Linked DNA regions of Homo sapiens: region 2 is linked to region 1. Evidence: promoter capture Hi-C in 16 types of primary human blood cells and fetal thymus (Javierre and others, 2016). All regions are on one chromosome and are shown on one strand. The core of a region is centred on a gene start or on the middle of the fragment in contact, and the rest is flanking DNA. Distances in the headings are between cores, read along the strand shown.

What was found. The method cuts DNA at HindIII sites, captures the fragments that hold promoters and counts their contacts. A CHiCAGO score of 5 or more calls a contact.
Region 2: a fragment that was not itself captured here is called in contact with the fragment with the promoter of HMGCS1 in region 1 in 1 of 17 cell types (monocytes); the score reaches 5.1 in monocytes.

Annotation. Positions count from the first base shown.
Region 1 is chr5:43,312,031-43,314,730 of GRCh38, reverse strand. HMGCS1 (3-hydroxy-3-methylglutaryl-CoA synthase 1) reads left to right here and starts at 1,319. Exons shown (of 11, transcript NM_001098272.3): 1 at 1,319-1,375. RefSeq lists enhancers at 1-406, 407-923, 930-1,159, 1,410-1,549. The HindIII fragment of the contact is 3,835 bases long and covers 603-2,700 here.
Region 2 is chr5:39,070,388-39,073,321 of GRCh38, reverse strand. The region is part of intron 2 of RICTOR (RPTOR independent companion of MTOR complex 2); the gene reads left to right. Among named protein-coding and RNA genes, the nearest start is that of RICTOR, 2.5 kb to the left of the region's middle. RefSeq lists an enhancer at 1-90. The HindIII fragment of the contact is 1,588 bases long and covers 620-2,207 here.

The sequences.
Region 1 (2,700 bases), core at 70-2,569:
TCCAATATATTTTGCCACTTTGCTGCTGAGAATGTGTCTTACTAGGTTAGCATCTATAGTGGTTAAAAGAATCTCCCATAACAATAATTGTGTGAATCACAGAATTACCAATGACCCCTTATCAATAGCATTCCTGTTAATTAAATTGAGATGGGGAGAGATACAAACAACTCCGAACCTCACTCATGGTCCCCCACCAAAGCTAAGTATTATGGCTTCTCTCTCTGACCAGATAGAGGCAGAGTTTATTGCAAAGCCACAAGTGTCCTCCTTTGGATTCCCCCAAATAGTGTTTCAGTGAATTCCTCTAGCTTGAATTGCTCCTCTCTATTTGCTGGGGGAGTTAGGCAGTCCGTATCCGATGGATTTACTATGCCGACAATTACGTGGCCTTTCCACAGCCTTTTACTTGGCAGGTACCACATATGAAGCTTAGAAGATACAGTGGGCAACAGGCCAAATGGAGTCCCTTTCCTCAGAGTGCATGGCCTGGCAAAAATCCTTGAATTCAGTATCAACTTCCCTTCACAGGCAAGGCTCTGCACCCTCCCCACGGATGCCTAATCCTGAAACCATTTTGTTTTAGGTTTAGTTAGAAAGCTTTGTCTCAAGAGCACTTTTGTTTGTTCTGTTTTCTTTAAGTCAAGGTAGTTTTGAATAAAGGAGACAATATTTGAGTATTTACAAATCGGGTATTTAGACTATTTACACATATACAAGTTCTGGGTGAAGTATTCTGCTCCAATTTGCAATCTACGCACACTTTGCTAGAAAACGTTAAGACTGAATTCAAATCAAGTACAGTATTTCAGAAATCTTTCAGGTGAAGCCTAGTTCTGGTTGCTAGGCAACCTGACAGACTCCCAAGCTGGGACCACCTCGCCTCCCACATTTGACCATCTCTCCAGCGGTGGGACGCGGAGTACCCATTGGCCCGCATCTCCTCTCACTTAGTCCCAATTGGTCGGAGAACCTCTCACTCCGCTCCCGTTGGCTCTCGCCGTATCTCGCAGCTCCGTCATTGGCAACTGGGCTCTCGTGCCACCTCACGTCAGTCTCTCACACCACTTCCTCGGCCCTGAGACTTTGTCCCCGCCTCTTCTCCCCGCCCTTCCAGCCACGAGGGAAAATCCTAGCGAGTCATCGCCTCTAGTTTCCTTTTGATTGGTAGAAGCCGGACTGGGGGGCGGGCGCTGCCGGGCAACTCTACCGGCCGCGATTGGCTGTGGGAGCCACCGTCCCGCCTCCCAGCGACTCTCGGCGGTGCCGGAGTCGGGTGGGTTGGCGGCTATAAAGCTGGTGGCGAAGGGGAGGCGCCGCGGACTGTCCTTTCGTGGCTCACTCCCTTTCCTCTGCTGCCGCTCGGTCACGCTTGGTGAGTGTCCCGCGCTGGGGAGTAGAACTGGGCTGCGGAGGTGCCGCGGGCGGGGTGTGGGCCAGACAGAGGCGGTGTCCTTGACTAGGCCCGAAGGAGCTGGGGCTCTGGGTCAGGACGTAGGCGTGGACTTTGCCCGGGAGGATGGGGCACCGTGAGCGGGGCCGGGCGGGGGTTCCCTCGTGAGGGACCTGAGGCCGACCGTAGCGGATCTGAGAAGATCCGAGAACACAGGCGAGTCGCGGAGGGGAGAACGCGAGAGGGCGTTGAGGTCTAGGTATTCTAACGACAGAGGAGTTGGAGGTGCCAGAGAGGCAGCTGTGACCGCCTAGAGGTGAGTGGGGGGTGTCAGGAGGGGGAGAGAAGACAGTTGGGCTACCAAGGCGTTTCCAGAGCGTTGGTTAAGGGTGGACGCCAAAGGATGGGCAAGATCCTCTTTAGACGGAGGCTGGTAGGTTCGCAGGGGGTGTGTCCTGCTGCCACATATAGAGTTGATGGAAAGAAGGGAAGTGGGTAGCATTACTTTTCTTCCTCAGCTCAGGTGCAAGAAAGCGTTCACAACCGTGATTTAGACCTGGCTAAGTACTGGGGCTCAGTCTGTACTTGCTTCAAATCTCATAGATCACTGCCTCCCGCCTTCCTGCCTCCATATTTTTTTTTGTCTACGTTTTAAAAAATAGGCTTCCTTGGTGTTCTGAAATCCCACATCTCTCTCCTACTAATACCTTCGGGACCAGCTTTAGGTGATACAGTGTAATGGGCAGGCACTCACAGAGTCCTCCCACAAATAGGTTTTGGATTAAGCTAAGGATATTTCAAAGCAAGTATATGGAGTCTTTGAAAACCCACGTCTGGCCTTGACCAGTGGTAGAGAAACGATTATTCTGATCCACTCTGGAGGAGGGATTTGGGGAACAAATAATGTGAGGTTGTGCCTGTTTGTCATGCTTGTCCCTATGGCCTTAGCCTTAAGGCATCAGTAGCTGCTTTCACTGCTCACCTCTGCTGCAGCTCCCCACCTTCCCGAGGATGCTCTTGCCACCTGCTGCAGTAGGATGATGTGTTCTGGTTGCTGCTAACTAACATTTGCTCTGTTTTAGGCATGAATATGAAAAACAATGACAAGATAAACAACAAAATTAAGACAAATGGAAGTGCTCCTAGAGTTAACAGATTTTTCCTTCTGAGATGTGTTTTGGACTTTATTGCACAGATACTATTAGATGAGAGGCAGTTGAAAGTCGTTAACATTATCCGTGTCAGTAGTTCTTTGCACTTGAGACACCTAAGCAGCTTGTGTTCTTTAAACTTTATTTTAAAATTGC
Region 2 (2,934 bases), core at 164-2,663, 4.2 Mb after region 1:
CGACATTATCTCGTTGAAGATTTAGTAGTTACGTACAAGATTCTTTTCTCTTCCACGGTAAACAGGATTGAGCCTACTGATTCCGACGAAGTCATATTTCACACGGGCTGTAGCTTGGAGTGTAACCCGGTTCAGCTGTACAGAATCAGTTTCTGAGGTCTATAAAACACCTTAGGAAGTAAACAAAAAAACTTGTTGTAGACATTCTGTATGAGATCAGTTTTTTACCCTATGTCGTACCTGACGTAATGACTGTTATCTACAGTAATTTGTTAAAGCTGGGCTCCTTGTTGACAACGGCTAGAGTGAAAGCATAGTGCATTTTCTAATTTGTTTTATTTTGCTTATCACGATGTAAGATTACTGTTTTATAAACTGAATGGTCAGCTTTCACTTAGCTACAAGAGTACATTTTTATAACTTAATATTTTATTCTGAAAGTTCAGGGACTTAGTTTTGGGTGAACTAGGTCCTTTTACAAGACAGTTTCTAAAATATAATACAATATAGTAGAGCTTAAATCCTGAAAATGGCTACTAATTAGATTATCAATGCACTAATTTCCACCATTTTTTTCAGCAGATCGGTTTTGAGAATTAGTATAGAAAGATGTAAAGCTTTTGACTTCTGTGCAACTGTTTGGAAACTTGACTATAACACACATGTGAAAAATCTATATAAAATAGATTCACTAGAAAACTTCCTAACAAGGATAACTTCTACAATTTCAGGTCTGTAAAAGATGTAATTAGTGAGTGATTTAATTTATATACAGGCATATGTGTTTTAGATGAAGGTGAAGGGAGCCCTTAATAAACTTGAGTTTAACTTGTGCATTAAAAACCTGCTCAGATGTGGTGCTGGAAATATATAGTTGTATTTTAAATTGAGTTCGTCGAGCTCCTATATATAGTGGTTTCTCTGCTTGGTGTCAAAAATGTTGAGTTGTGGAAGAGCTTAGGTACACATCTGATTTGATAATTTTGGCTTACTCCAGTTTTACTGAGGCACACAGGTAACTGTTTACTATTTAAAATGCCATATTAACTGAGAATTTAGTAAGCACCTATGTCCATAGGTATTTCCAGGTTAATATAGATAGTGCAGAAAATGCTGTTTTCGGCTTGCCCTGACAAAATGTACTTCAGTTTGGAATAAAGTATACACAGCCATTTAAAACTGATTGCAAAAATAAAGAGTGAGGGATTGTTTGAGATCTGTATTTCTAAATCATAAGGAAGTTTGGAATTAATCTGAATCAGTCATTTTATAGTGATACTATTGTTTTAAAAAGTTGCTGTTGTGACAGACATTTCATTGTTCAAAGAAGGCTTGAAGAAAATTCATGAGGAATTAAAGTTTAGTAATAATTTGAGAACTGTGAGGCAGTTTGGGTTGCAGCTGAAGGGCAGCTGTTTGTGGATTAGATTACAGTATGTAAAAAGATAAAGTTTGGGCAACCAAAAATTTTTTTGTTTAATGCCAAGGCAGTGTTTGCTTTTATTCTTATTTTTTAAATTTAATCTTTGAGAGATTCATTGTGTAGTTACCTAATAAAGCTCATTATAAAATAGAGGACATGGTCATTGTAATCCCTAAAGGATCCATCAATGTGTAGTGAAAAGAGAGTTGACTATAAAGTCAAATCATTCTGGATTGTAACCTCAGCTGTGAGATTTAATAGTTGGGTGATTTGGGGCAAGTTATTTGACCTTGCTTTACCCCTGATTTCTTCATTTCTAAAATAAGAGATAACTTCAAAGGGTTAAGAATGTGAAAAGTAAATGAGCTAGTTCTTAATTAAAGTACTTGGCATAAGACCGGATACTTTGTAAGTGATATTTAACATTAGTTGCCTTCCTACATTGTGAAATCACAGTTTTAAAACTCACATTAAAAATACTTTAAACGGTTGTTTTGAATATTATAAACTTGTTAATAAGGAATTATGGTATTCGAGCTTCTTTTTTTTTTGAAACATACTGTTATACTAATTGGGTATAGTCTATCTGAGTTAGAGTTCTTGAATATAACAATTGTAAAGCAATCTGTGACATTACCAATAAATTAAGTCTAAGCGAAGTGCAGTATGTTATATTCACTTAGGATAAAATGTGATACTGTATTTCATAGAACCTTAGAATTTTTGTCTCTGACACCAGGACATTTCATACTATTTAATAATGACTTGGCTAGCCTTGCAAGCTTCTTGAGGCTCAGAAGAATTCTAAGTTTCGTTGGTTTTGGTACTTGTGTTAGTGCTGTGGTTCATACATAGAGTGCCTCAGTTAAAAATTGTTGATGGATTAATTTTTATCTAGTTTAGGAACTTCATTATAGTAGACTTTACAGTCAGCGTATTGGTAATGGTTGCTCTGAGTTTTGTTCAGACAACTACTTAATTTGTGAAAGTCCCCAATATTTGCTAATGATATTATTAAATACTGTCTGTAATGCATGCCAAAATGTATTTTGAAGCCCAAATGCTTCCTCTCGCCATTTGTACTGCAAGGATAGACTGTCTTATCAGTCCAGTAGTGCATCTCTTTACTGGTACTGAATCACTTGAAAAGATACAGTGTTCTTCCTGGGTAAACCCCTCCTGGTATACTTTAATTATTGTGTTCAAAGTGAATTCCCAGAATATGGACACACTAGTTCAAATATAATTATTAGAATATAATTTATTTAAAAGTATAGTTGAATTTTATAATTTTTGATTAACTCCTTTACGTTTCCACTAAGAACTAAAAAACTGACTCTCTTGGTTGCTGTCTAATACCTAGAAAAGCAGAAAGGTTCCAAAATGATGTAGATTTGAACTCTAACTTTTTTTTTTTTTATTTGAGACGGAGTCTCGCTCTGTCGCCCAGGCCGGACTGCGGACTGCAGTGGCGCAATCTCGGCTCACTGCAAGCTCCGCTTCCCGGGTTC